Linked DNA regions of Homo sapiens: region 2 is linked to region 1. Evidence: promoter capture Hi-C in 16 types of primary human blood cells and fetal thymus (Javierre and others, 2016). All regions are on one chromosome and are shown on one strand. Each heading gives the region's core, a stretch centred on a gene start or on the middle of the fragment in contact. The rest is flanking DNA. Distances are from core to core; before and after follow the strand shown. Region 1 holds the start of ATP1A4 (ATPase Na+/K+ transporting subunit alpha 4). Region 2 holds the start of PIGM (phosphatidylinositol glycan anchor biosynthesis class M).

Region 1 (7,235 bases), core at 2,002-4,501:
ATGCTTACATAGGAAGGTTTTTGTTTATGGATTGATTCACAAACCTTTTTGAACTTGAGAACCTATCTCGGGTCCTAGGTGCTGAGGATACCAACATGAATAAGAATGGTCCCTACCCTTAAGGTGCTCCAGTGGGGAGATAAATACATACAGATAATTATAATGTGCAGGGCCAATGTCATGATGAAATATAATACTTAATGTTGATAACATATTAACACCACGCTTTGACTCTCCAACTTAGAGGGAATAAGATCTAGTGTTTGGTAGCACAATAGGGCAACTATAGTTAATAATTTATTATGGATATCAAAATAATTAGAGGAGTGGATTTGGAATGTTCCCATGCAAAGAAATGATAAATGTTTGAGGTTATGGGTATCCTAAATACCCTGATTTGATCATTACACATTGTATGCTTATATCAGAATAATACATGTATACCATAAATATGTACATCTACATATCCATTTTTTTTTTTGAGACAGAGTCTTGCTCTGTCACCTAGGCTGGAGTGCAGTGGCATGATCTCGGCTTACTGCAACCTCCATCTCCCAGGTTCAAGTGATTCTCCTGCATTCAAGTGATTCTCCTGCCTCAGCCTCCCAAGTAGCTGAGATTGCAGATGTGTGCCACTATGCCAGGATAATTTTTGTATTTTTAATACAGATGGGGTTTCACCATGTTGGCCAGGCTGGTCTCCAACTACTGACCTCAAGTGATCTGCCTGCCTTGGATTACAGGTGTGAGCCACGGCACCTGGCCCATAAATTTTTAAAAAACATAAATAGAAAAGAATACTAACAAAAAACATGAATGCATAGATTCTCATTCCACTCTTGTGCACAAGCTTATGTGCTTTTTCCTGTTAATGAAAATGATAGTAGAACCTGCCAATCACCACCAGCCACTCCCCAACCTCTGCCTGAAACACCCGAGGGGCCCCAAAACCCTTTCAGGGGGTCCACAAGGTCAATTTTCATAGTAATACTAAATCATTGTTTGCCTTTTTTTACTCTCATTTTCTTAAGAGTATATAGTGGAATTTTCTGAAGGCCAACTGGCATAACATCACAACAGATTTTATCCAGAAAATATTTGAGAATCCAGCTATCTTCTATTAAAAAGCAAGACATTGAAGAGGTTTGCAAAAATGTAAGATGCTGCTAATTTTTTTGTTTTGAAAAATACAGTTATTTGTCAAAACATATATGAATATATGATAACTTTATTTTTGTTATTTTTAAATGAATTGAGAAATACATTTTAAAACTCTCAATTTTAATTTCTAATATGGTAAATATAGACAGACTTAAGCCACATAAGCACAAGTTCTTTGCGGTCCTAGATAAATTCTAAGAGTGTAAAGGAGACCTAAGGACAAGACGTTTGACCAGCACTGCCCTAAAGCATTCTTATTCTCTTATCTAGTCCCACACTCTCTTTGAGGGTAGTTACCATTTGCAGCTTTTTCCAGGTAGTGTCCATGGAACGTGGCCAGGCAGAGGGTGAGGGGTGGGAACGTTGGACTTGAAGTTAGGGGGCTGGATTCCTAGTTCAGCTTTTGTCCTGGCAGCCTCACAGTCAGAGTTGGAGACTCTCTGCCTCCTCAGGGAGCTTCTTACTCACCTTTGTCAGGTCCACGGAGTACTTGGTGCTCAGCTCTTCCAAGGTTAATTTGTGATCATCCTGAGGGGACAGTAGAGGCATTGAGGGACAGGGGGTGGCCCAGGTCATTTCCAGGGAGAGGGGGAGAAACAGACTGGAGAATGTTAGTCCAAACTGAGACTGCTCCATTTTGTAAGCTCCCTGCAATTCTTTTTTTGAGATGGAGTCACTCTGTTGCCCAGGCTGGTGTACAGTGGTGCGATTTCGACTCACTGCAACCTCTGCCTCCCAACAGGTGTTTCTCCTGCCTCAGCCTCCCAAGCAGCTGGGATTACAGGGGCCCATCACCAGGACCAGCTAATTTTTGTATTTTTAGAGGCGGGGTTTCACCATGTTGGCCAGGCTTGTCTCAAACTCCTGACCTCAGGTGATCTGCCTGCCTCAGCCTCCCAAAGTGCTGGGATTACAGGTGTGAGCCACCACGCCCGGCCTAGCTCCCCACTATTTTACAGGCCTTGGTCAAAGTGAAACATTTCACGGGGGTTCGGGCCAGAGAAACAGCCTGCCTAACCACCTGACCACAGGGCAGACGAAGGCCCAATTAAAGACAAAGACCCCACTAAAGAAACATCCCTATCACATCCTGCTGGGCAAAGGTCCAGGGAATACCATGATTATATTCTGTGGAAACAAGGGCCAAAAATCACCTCATCATGAGAACATCTTATCGATATCCTGCCAGGCAGCAGGCCATACAGCCCAGACTCCTCCCATCCATCCCTATAAGTACCCAGCCTGTAAGTGGCAGTGGACTGTGGAATTAAGCTGATCCCCCACTTCCACAGGTGTCTGCAATATACCTGTGCTTGCTGTTGAGCTGCCCTGTCTCTCTGTGTGTATCTTTTTTTTTTTTTTTAACCCTCTCCTTCCCTCCAAAGCCTAACAGAGAAGAGATGTGGCTCTGGCCTGTGTGTTTCATTCTCAAGGTAAGATGTTAAAGATAGGTGGAGGAGTGTTTTCAGAGGGCAGCTGTCAGCGCCCACTTTGGGTGGCCTCACCATGACCACTTCCTTCTTCAGTTCCTCCATATTGCGCTTCTGTTTTTCCCTCTTCACCATTTTTTTCTTGATAAGCCCTTTTTTAGGTCTTCGTCTTGGACTCTGGTCATGGGGAGCCACTGTCCCTTTCTTCCCCCAAAGCCCCATAGCTATCCCCAGAAAGAGCTGCCCGAGCTCAACTGTGGGAAGAAAGCTGAGAGAGTGAGGCAAGGGGAAGGGAAGAGGGCGCGCGGGCAAGGGGGCCACGAGAAGAGAGTGGTGGGGAGAGAATGAGGGAGCAGAAAGAAAGAGGCAGGGAGGGAGGTGTTGGGTGGTGAAGGTGAGAGAGAGGAAGGGAAGTGAGAGAGGAGAGACTGAGCGGTCCTCCAGCCGTCCGCTGGGAAGAGGAAGAGTCAGGAGTGAGGGAAGAGGGAGGAGAGAAGCCTAGGGTGGAAGGATAAAAAGGTAGAGGTGAGGGAATGCAGTGAGGGCAGGAAACAAGAGGTGAAGCGTAACCAGGTGCCTCAGTGATGAAGATGCCGCAAGGCCCACAGGAAGGTGGGAAATGCAGTGAGAGTGAGGAGGCGGAGTGAGCTTCAAGGATCTGGGAACCCCCCAGTCCCAGGCCCTGTGGTTGCTGGGGCAATGACCCAGGTCTGGCATCACAAAGGCCTCCTGAAAGTTCTAACCAAGAATCCAGAAGTCTTGCCTTGGCGATGGTCCAGGTCTGCTGTCGCAAAGGCCTCATGAAGGTTTTAACCAAGAACCTAGAAGTCTCAGTCTTTGGGTTTGAGGACGATTGGAGCAGGCCCTGCTACAGAAAGAGTTTCAGTCTGAGGGCAGAACTAGAACAAAGTTCTTGTGTGGTCCTGCAGACTTTGGAGGCTTAGAGGTATGCCAAATAGATGACTCAAAAATAAAGCGGGTATTCGGCCGGGCGCGGTGGCTCATGCCTGTAATCCCAGCACTTTGGGAGGCTGAGATCGAGACCTTCGTGGCCAGTATGGTGAAACCCCATCTCTACTAAAAATACAAAATTTAGCCAGGTGTGGTGGTGGGCACCTGTAATCCCAGCTGCTCGGGAGGCTGAGGCAGGAGAAACATCTGAATCCAGAAGGCAGAGGTTGCAGTGAATTGAGATTGCATCACTGCACTCCAGCCTCGGTGACAGAGTGACTCCATCTCAGACAAACAAACAAACAAACAAACAAACAAACAAACAAACAAAAAACCATAGCAGGGAGCTTACAAAATGGTGCAGTTGCAGTTTGGACTAATATTCTCCCGTCTGTTTTTGAGACTCCATCTCAAAAAAAAAAAAAAAGCAGGTACTCTGTGTGTGTTTTTTAGCAAGGCACACTTTTCCACTAACATTGGGTTTGATCTTTTAATTTTAGGAGATCAGCTAGCAGAATAGATCAGATCTTGGGCTCTGGAACCAGTCCTGGATTTCAATCCCAACTCCTCCACTTGTCAGCTGTGTGGCTTTGAGCAAGTTACCTAACCTCTGTACCTCTCTTTTCTTATTTTTAAAAGAGGATACCTTCTACCTTAAGTGAGGTGCTCTACAAAAAGCACTATGTGACATATATAGTATGTGCTCAATAGGTAGCTTGAATTCAGTAGTAGTTTTATTTGTGGATTAATATGCAGCTCTTCTCAGTGAGGGTAAAAATATGCTTTTCCATGTGATAGCGTTGCATTTTCTCATTTTAAAATGATGTACTTACCTCTTCCATTGACCTTCTCTGGTGTCTCAGTAAGTGCTTTGACTATATTAACTGTATATATGTTTTGCATGTCCATAGGATTCTACCTCCTTCCAAGAATAATCTGAAGCATCTATACTTTTCTGTCAACCATTATATATATTTTTCAATTATGCACGTCACATAGATTTTCCCATTCTGTTGTTTGATATTTGTTTATTTACTTTTTGAGACAGGATCTCACTTTGTTGCCCAGGCTGGAGTGTAATGGTGCGATTATGGCTTACTCCAGCCTCAACCTCCCAGGTCCAAGTGATCCTCCCACCTCAGCCTCCCAAGTAGCTGGGACCACAGGCATGTGCCACCATGCCCGGCTAATTTTTTTTATTTTATTTTAGTAAAGACGGGGTGCCCCTGTGTTGCCCAGGCTGGTCTCAAACTCCTGGGCTCAAGCAATCCTTGGCCTTGGCCTCCTAAAATGTTGGGATTACATAAGTGAGACACCAAGCCTGGCCTGATATTTATTTAATTGCATTTTGGTTGGGCATGCTTTTTAAAAATATGACTGTATCTGGAAACATTCATCTTGGTGCTGATGCAATCCTCCTTGAATATTCAGAAATAGAAATGCTCCCTTCCCAGCTGGGATAAATGATCGTCTATTTCTTTAACAGATTGGATTTTTCTTCTCTATTAAAAATGTTTAAGATAAAAATTGAAAGCCCCACCTTCCCTCCCTCCAAACTCAGATTCTCCCCACTGCTGAAGTTACTGCTGGTAACAATGTGCTGCATGTCCTTCCAGTCTTTTTTCTATGTTTATACAAATAGATATCTAAAAGGAGGTATTTTTCAACTTTTAAACAATCATTCAACTCTCTACCAACCTGTCATGTACATAAAGCTTCTTTTTTTCAGTGCTGTGAGGCTTCCATATTCTGTATTGACCATGCTCTATTCAATCATTCCCATTACTGATGGATTTATGAGATATTTTCCATTTTTTTAACCATTAATAAAATTGCTAGAGTGTCATTCTTGCACATAGATATCATCAGGCCCTTGAGCTTCTATTTCTGTAGAATCAGTTCCTGTTGCTGAATCATAGAGTACACTCATTAACAATCTTAAAAGATTCTGCCAATTGGTCTTTAAAAGTGTTTATCTATCTGCATCCCAACAACAGGATGCAAGAATGTCTGCCTTCCACACCTTTGATTATGCTAGATGACCTTGATTTTTACTATTATAATCAGTGAACTTTGATATCTTGTAGTTTTAATTTGCATTTTTAAATTGTCAATGTGAGCATTTTCTCTTATGTTTACTGGCTTTCTGGTTTTCTTTCTTTCTTTCATTTCTTCTTTTCTTTCTTTCTCTCTTTCCTTTCTTCCTTCCTTTCTTTCTCTCTTTCTTTCTTTTGACAGGCTGGAGTGCAGCGGTGCAATCTCAGCTCACTGCAACCTCCACCACCTGTGTTCAAGCGATTCTCGTGCCTCAGCCTTCTAAGTAGCTGAGACTACAGGCACACGCCACCATACCCAGCTGATTTTTTTGTATTTTTTAGTAGAGATGGGGTTTTGCCATGTTGGCCAGGCTGATCTTGAACTCCTGACCTTGGGTGATCCGCCTGCCTGGGCATCCCAAAGTGCTGGGATTACAGGCATGAGCCACCATGCCTGGTCTTGGACTTTATTTATTTATTTTGTAAATTGTCATTCTTACAATTTGCCCAATTTTCCATTGTTTTCTTTTTTATATTGATTTGTAGGAAACCCTTGTCATATATAACACAAATGTTTTCTCCCAGTCTTTGTGTTTAATGTAGATGAACATAAAATTCTTAAGAAGAAGGTTAGAATTAAAGTTAAAATTCATATGTTTTTCTATGCATCATCTATGTGACAATAACACTTAGCTCAGTCTTGCAGATGGGCATTGCCCAAAAGCAACTTTATGGAGATACAATCAATTGAAATTATTTTTAGAAACCTCATTTTGTTCTAGAGATCTTAGCTCAAAAGTCCACCTCTTCGGAGAGGCCTTCTCTCATAGTTAAATCCAAAACAGCCCCTCCGGCGCCAGCCCTCTCTCTATCACTTTTGATCTTCACAACACTTCTCTCCCTCTGAAATTATCCTGCCTGTTAACTGTTGACTTGTCTGATTGACTTGTCTTGTTGACTTGTCTGGTTCTCCATGACCCTAGGGACCTTCCCTGTTTTTTTCCACAGCTATATACCTGGCTCCTAGGATAGTGCTTGGCACAGGGCAGCTGGTCCACAAATAGTCCCTGAATAGATGTTGAATGACTAATGAGTTTTCAGGTTTTATCTTAATGCTACAAGGTTTTGATAATTGCCACTTTGGTCTGATTTTTTTTTTTTTTTTGAGACGAAGTCTCACTCTGTTGCCCAAACTGGAGTGCAGTGGTGCAATCTCAGCTCACTGCAACCTCCACCTACCGGGTTCAAGCGATTCTCCTGCCTCAGCCTCCTGAGTAGCTGGGACTACAGACATGCGCCACCATGTCTGGCTAATTTTTGTATTTTTAGTAAAGACAGGGTTTCACTATGTTGGCCAGGCTGGTCTTGAACTCCCGACCTCTTGATCTGCCGACCTTGGCCTCCCAAAGTGCTGGGATTACAGGCGTGAGCCACCGCGCCCGGCCAGTGGTCTGATGTGTTTTAAAATCTGTTGGGGTAAATATGTTAGCATCAGTGATCTATTCATTTGCTTCATAATTACTTAGAAAAAACCTCTGAGATTCTTGCCTGATTACTCTTGCAGCTGAATGTCACAACCAATATGTCATGTTTTATAAAAATGCAGCGAGGATTTTAATTGATATTGAATTGACTCTTTCATAGTAACTTATTTTTA
Region 2 (7,235 bases), core at 2,892-5,391, 120 kb after region 1:
CAGCCTCCCAAAGTGCTGGGATTACAGGCGTGAGCCACTGTGCCTGGCCAACCTTCTTAACTCTTACACTATGCCCATCTGAGATCAAATAAATCCCCTTAAAAGCTAGAGCACTTACCACAGCTGCATTTGTATATTATTTGTCAATTTATTTGACTAATGTCTGTGTAGCTTACTAGACTTCAAGTGTCACATGAATGGGATTCATGTCAAGTGTTTGGTCACGAGTACAGCCCAGCACCTCATATAGTGCCCGACATGTATGATGTTTGATAAATTAGCAGGAGGGAAAGAAAGCAAAGAGAGAAAGAAATGGCCTAAAGTATGCAGTGGAGCTTGTATATCTTGTTAAATAACTATAAAAGAGTTAGATAACGAGCATGACATAATTACTATTAAAAAAGAGAACAGACAATAAACATCACTGTTTTGAGGAGGGAGAGACTATTTCACTTGTTAAGGTCTAGGAAGAGGAGTTGAGAGTTGGGTTCAACATTGAAAAACCAAATAGCATTTAAGTAAGTAAAGAGAAACAGGTCTCTTTGTAGGAAGTACAGCATGAAGAAAGTGTCATGAGAAGAAAGCACAAGGCATATTTTGGGAACAGTAAACCTAAAACAGAGGCATTATAGGTGAATAGGATGGAAAGCTAAGGTAAAGCCAGAAAATAGGGGGACTGAATATCAGGCTAAAGTGTTCATTATTTTTTTCTTTAGGCAGTCAGGAACCACTGAAGATGTTTGATGGAGGAAAGAATCTAAGTAAAGTACTATTAATTAATATCAATCTGGTAGTAGAATTGAGACATAAGACATTAAATCAGTTAAGAGATTTTTAAAGCTTGAGGGAAAGGCAATTGTCACAGATCCTGGTATAGTATAGTATAGGTGTTCGCTACGTATTATTTGAGTTGTTGAAGGTCTGAACTAAGGTGCAGGATGCTGGGCATGGAAAGAATTAGAAATAGATTCCAAAGAAATGACAAAGCAAGACATATGAACAAAATCTAGTGAAAAAGAAAGTGATTAAAGTAGTCAAGGTTCTAGCAGGAAACAGATGGTATACTCAAAGGGCCAGTGGACATGTTTTAATGAAGAAACTATTTGCAAAGGTATGGGCAAGTTTAATAAATCAACAAGATATGGTGATGTACCCAGGCACTCGCAAAGTAGGACGCCTTTACCAGCCTTAAACCTGAAGGGACAGTTACTGGAACCATGAGACTTGTACCCAAAGGAGAGAGCTATAGCTTCAACAGGAGCCATGGCTTTAGGTGAGGAATTCCAGACACTGCCAAAGATCTGCTAGTGCCTCCCACTGGTCTATTCTAATGGGAAGCCAGAGAACAAGGGAGATTGAGTGATGCTACCCATACAGCCTAACCTCTTGGAACACAGAACAGGGCAAAAAAGATGAATAGTGGATATGGAAGGGTAATGAGAGTATATGCAGCATAGTGAACAAGGACAAGGTTCCTGCTAGGGAAACTAAAGTTGAGCGATCCATGTTTGTGCTTTCCTTAGTCATTGGCTCTAAAAGGATAGAAATCTAGGAGCAGATAGTGAAAGGGGGAATTAAGAAGGATTGTAAGTAACAGTCCGAGAGGTAATGAACAGTTGAGCATTTGAAAAAAATGTAACTCTTTCAGAAAGAGGTGAGAAAATACAATCCCTAAACCCAATGCAAAAAGTTCAATATGGGGTCCTCGGACCCTGTGATGTATCTCTTCCACCCAGAAATAGTAACTAAAGTTGGACCTCTCTGTCCAATTTGTTTTACAGATTCCAGTCTCTTCTTCGTTCCCACAACTGCTATCTACATCTCACTCCTTTGACTTCAGTGACATGCTTAGTTTTTTTTTTATTTTATTTTTTTATTAGTTGTTTCCTTATCTGCCTAAATTTGGTGCCTCCCATCTCTCTACTAGGACAGCCATGTAGGGACAGATTGACTGAAACCTTTCTGCTATACTACTGAAACCAATCCAGCCACAAGGACCCTTACTTAGTTAATCCTCAGACACCTACCTCCCATATTTTCTATCTTAGGGAACTAAGCCTCACTTATCTATTATTTGCAGAAGAAAAGAATAAATCAGAGGTAGAAAGAGTCACAGTGAGAGAGAATATCCAGAATATCAAGATGAGAGATCAATAAGAGAAAACATAGGAAAATTAGAATTTGTGATCAACATTTTATTGGCAAGTCAGCCACATAATGATTAAGATATTCTAGGTCAGACAGACTGGGTTTTGAGTTCTAGCACTGTCACTAGTTAGCTATGTGACTTGGGAAAATTACTTAATCTCCATAAGCCTTGGTTTTCTTCATTTGTAAAGGTGGGAATATCTACCTTACATGAAAAGTACTTAGCATAATGCCTGGTACATTGCAAATGAGTCCTCAACAAATCCAGCTATTATAAATAATAGTAATCATCATCATCATAATCATCATTATATGAGTGGTGATGTGCTGCCACTATATATATGGCTAATATACTGCAAAAAAATGGTTAGAATTATCAATCTAAGGCATGTAATGATACCAAGGCATATAAAAGGACATAGAGCTATCACAATATGAATATGGAATATATAAGATTAACACAGTTCATCTCCAAGGGATAAATTGAAGTGTAGGATGGATGAGCAGCAGGTAGTTCTGGGAGCTGCATGTTCAGACTGCATGAAGTCACCTCCTTTTCCTTATTCTAGTCTAGAAGACTTCCCCTAGGAAGCAGGCTTATTCTATAAAATCCAATTAGTCAGTATTTACTAAGCATTTACCATGTGCCTAAGACTACAATAAATTACACATAATTGAAAAAAATTAAGGATAAGATATAATTTCTACCCCCAAGAACCCTATAATCTCTTGTGAGGGCTATGAATACAATCTAAAATAAAGTATCAAATTCTACAATGCGGACTATGTAAGTGCACTAAGTAACCACGGAAAGGGAAGAGCTAATGGGTTACAGTCCTTGGCAAGAAATTCATGGAAGTAGGGTTGGAGTGGGGTGGGGGGAGCAGGGGACCTTGACATACATAAAGGATATTTAAAAGGGAAAATAACTGGGAGTTGGGAGCAATCCAAAGATGCCACTCTAGAAATATTCTGGTAGGAGGAACCTCTAAAATCAATTCAACTTTACTGAATGGCTACTAGTACTGTGTTAGATGTTGAGGTAGAGAAAAGAACAAGATAATCTCTGATACCGAAGAATTGAAAGTGTCCTGATGGAAAACTAGGAGAGCAAAACAAACAAAAACAGTTATTACAAAGCAGTGTGACAAATGCTGTAACAAAGGAATGACCAGGGAGTTCTGGAGCACTGGGAGAACTTTTAGTAGCATGGCAGGGTCTTCTGTGTGAGTGATTTTCTGGAACTTAGATCCCGTCCGCCCCAGTCTACCTATCCTCGGACAGGGGAGGGGACTGGCATCTAAGTCATTCATTCTGCGTGATGAGGAAGTGAGTGGGAGCTGGGAGCTAACACTTGCACTGATGCCTGAAGGGTTGAGTAGGTATTTGCCAGAGTGATTGGAGAGCGGATGGCAACTTTGACAGAAGAAATAGCAAATACAGAGATACTGAGGCATAAGGGGCTGACAAGTTAAGGAATTTTGTGACGCTTTCCTGTCTTCTTTCCCATCACCTTCACCTAGGGTTGCCGGATAAAATACAAGCTGCCCACTTAAATCTGAATCTCTGATTACCAACTAGTAATTTAAAAATATAAGTATGCCTCCAATATTGCATGGAACATACACACTCAGCCCCCTTCAACTCATCCTGTCCTGTCCGGGGCCCACAAATCCCCGGTGAATACCGGCGAGCTAGTGGAGTAAAGCATGAGAAGGCTTATCTTCCTTTCACTCCTACATTTTTCACTCTCGGATCTCCAGCCCAGGACTGAAGGATGTAGCGCGCAGCCCGCAGCTCGCTGCTCGTCGGAGGGTTTTCCTCTGAGGACTGGAAATGGGGCGCGGGAAGAGGGCGGGGGGCGGCGGGCTGTCACTTACAAAGAAATCTCACTCCACTCCATAAAATCCTCAAGCCAGTGCCGGATTTCCCGGCAAGCGGACGTCTCCCCTCCCACGGACCGGAAATCCCGCCTCCGCTGGAAGAAGAAGCGGAAGCGAGACCGTCCATCCAGAGGAAGGCAAGTTTTTGGCTCGGGCGGCTGAGAAGACCGCGCGGGGCTGGAGACAGGTAGCAGTACGGGGGCGGGGCTTCATGCCGGATGTGATAGTCTGCAGTCGTTTCGGTTGGCAGCCTGGCGGGTGGGAGATGCGGCGGCCACCTGCTGCAAAGAACCGAAGGGAAGGTTAGAAGTACGAAGGCAGTTTGGAGCTGGGGCTAAGCAGCTGTCGCACGGTCAGATCATGGGCTCCACCAAGCACTGGGGCGAATGGCTCCTGAACTTGAAGGTGGCTCCAGCCGGCGTCTTTGGTGTGGCCTTTCTAGCCAGAGTCGCCCTGGTTTTCTATGGCGTCTTCCAGGACCGGACCCTGCACGTGAGGTATACGGACATCGACTACCAGGTCTTCACCGACGCCGCGCGCTTCGTCACGGAGGGGCGCTCGCCTTACCTGAGAGCCACGTACCGTTACACCCCGCTGCTGGGTTGGCTCCTCACTCCCAACATCTACCTCAGCGAGCTCTTTGGAAAGTTTCTCTTCATCAGCTGCGACCTCCTCACCGCTTTCCTCTTATACCGCCTGCTGCTGCTGAAGGGGCTGGGGCGCCGCCAGGCTTGTGGCTACTGTGTCTTTTGGCTTCTTAACCCCCTGCCTATGGCAGTATCCAGCCGCGGTAATGCGGACTCTATTGTCGCCTCCCTGGTCCTGATGGTCCTCTACTTGATAAAGAAAAGACTCGTCGCGTGTGCAGCTGTATTCTATGGTTTCGCGGTGCATATGAAGATATATCCAGTGACTTACATCCTTCCCATAACCCTCCACCTGCTTCCAGATCGCGACAATGACAAAAGCCTCCGTCAATTCCGGTACACTTTCCAGGCTTGTTTGTACGAGCTCCTGAAAAGGCTGTGTAATCGGGCTGTGCTGCTGTTTGTAGCAGTTGCTGGACTCACGTTTTTTGCCCTGAGCTTTGGTTTTTACTATGAGTACGGCTGGGAATTTTTGGAACACACCTACTTTTATCACCTGACTAGGCGGGATATCCGTCACAACTTTTCTCCGTACTTCTACATGCTGTATTTGACTGCAGAGAGCAAGTGGAGTTTTTCCCTGGGAATTGCTGCATTCCTGCCACAGCTCATCTTGCTTTCAGCTGTGTCTTTCGCCTATTACAGAGACCTCGTTTTTTGTTGTTTTCTTCATACGTCCATTTTTGTGACTTTTAACAAAGTCTGCACCTCCCAGTACTTTCTTTGGTACCTCTGCTTACTGCCTCTTGTGATGCCACTAGTCAGAATGCCTTGGAAAAGAGCTGTAGTTCTCCTAATGTTATGGTTTATAGGGCAGGCCATGTGGCTGGCTCCTGCCTATGTTCTAGAGTTTCAAGGAAAGAACACCTTTCTGTTTATTTGGTTAGCTGGTTTGTTCTTTCTTCTTATCAATTGTTCCATCCTGATTCAAATTATTTCCCATTACAAAGAAGAACCCCTGACAGAGAGAATCAAATATGACTAGTGTATGTTCCACACCCTCTGCTACTGTGTTACATTCTGATTGTCTTGTATGGACCAGAAGAGAGCTTTGGGACATTTTTTCTGAACATTCTAAGCATTCTAGTGAAAGTTCCCATGTTCCAACAGAACTTAAAAGCAATGTTTGCCTTATATATAAAAGGGACACAATAATTGAGGTCCACCTTCTAGGAAATCCTAGGACTCGTTTATTTGGGACATGGTGGGAATAAAGGTCACATATTGGAAAATGGAAAGGCTGATGAAACTATCAGATACTAAAACATTCTTAAAATAGAGGAATATAGTTAGAGACATCAGGTTTAAGCCAGTATTTGTTCCTGTTTTACAATGCTTCTGTCTTAAGCTGTGTCTTAACTTTTAACACCCATCTTTTCTTTCTAAAGCTTTCCTGACAGCTGTGAAAATCCAAAAAATATTCTTAAACTGTGTATGGTGGCCCTTGCCTGTAGTCTCAGCACTTTGGGAGGCTGAGGTGGGAGGGTCGCTTGAGTTCAGGAGTTCTAGACCCACCTGGGGCAAGATGGTGAGACCTAGTCTCAAAAAAAAAAAAAAAAATTAGCCAGGTGTTGTGGTGCACCCCTGTAGTCATAGCTGCATGGGAGGCTGAGGTGGGAGAATTGCTTGAGCCCAGAGCAAGACCCTGTCTCAAAAAAAAAAAAAAAAAAAAAAAGGAAAGGACAACTTTTTAGATAGAAAAGTATTAAATAATACTAAGATGCTTAGTAGTATTATTTTAGAGAGTTTTAAACTTCTATATTAAATGTGGGGTCTTACAAGATAATCCAAAGACTTTGGGAGGCCAAGGCGGGCAGATCACGAGGTCAGGAGATTGAGACCATCCTGGCTAACACGGTGAAACCCCTCTCTACTAAAAATACAAAAAATTAGCCGGGCGTGGTGGGTGCCTGTAGTCCCAGCTACTCCTCGGGAGGCTGAGGCAGGAGAATGGCGTGAACTCCGGAGGTGGAGCCTGTAGTGAGCCGAGATGGCACCACTGCGCTCCAGCCTGGGCGACAGAGCAAGACTCCATATCAAAAAAAAAAAAAAAAAAAGATAATCCAAAGAATTTAAATTGTAATCATGTTTCATGTATTTGTTTTATTACTTACTTTTATAGCACTTAGTCCCAGTGGTATTAGACTGCTATTTGGTTTCATACAAAAAGGATTAAATTTAAATTCATTCATGTTTAGACTTGAGTTATTACATTTTTAAAACTATCATCTTGCCTTTAATGTTTGTGGTCCTACACAAACTATTAGTACATTTCAGTATCCTCTTACCCCTTTGTTTTTAAGTTTTTGATTGCTAAAGCAAGACTTTTTTCTTCTAGAATTTAAGTCAACCAAGTGTTATCTATGTTGTAAAAATGGATAATAGTAGATTTTAGGTGATAAAACAACTTGTTAGTAAGACATTTCCTAGCTTAAAAAAAAAAATCAAAAATTCCATGATAGAAATGCAGACCTGTGAGGGAAACTCCTGAAAAGCATAAGAAGCATCCCAGAGAGCCATGGGTTTTCTAGACCAGAGAATTTAGAGGGAGATTGTG

The links. Contacts are between HindIII fragments. The CHiCAGO score rates a contact against its expected background, and 5 or more counts as called.
Region 2: a contact is called between the fragment with the promoter of PIGM here and the fragment with the promoter of ATP1A4 in region 1, in 15 of 17 cell types (M0 macrophages, M1 macrophages, erythroblasts and 12 more). The highest score is 12.0, in M0 macrophages.

What each region holds. Positions count from the first base shown.
Region 1 is chr1:160,147,619-160,154,853 of GRCh38, reverse strand. ATP1A4 (ATPase Na+/K+ transporting subunit alpha 4) reads right to left here and starts at 3,251. Exons shown (of 22, transcript NM_144699.4): 1 at 2,667-3,251; 2 at 1,630-1,689. The coding sequence starts at 2,813. The HindIII fragment of the contact is 4,407 bases long and covers 853-5,259 here.
Region 2 is chr1:160,028,896-160,036,130 of GRCh38, reverse strand. It overlaps PIGM (phosphatidylinositol glycan anchor biosynthesis class M), which reads left to right and starts at 4,141. Exons shown (of 1, transcript NM_145167.3): 1 at 4,141-7,235. The coding sequence starts at 4,392. The coding sequence ends at 5,663. The HindIII fragment of the contact is 5,226 bases long and covers 843-6,068 here.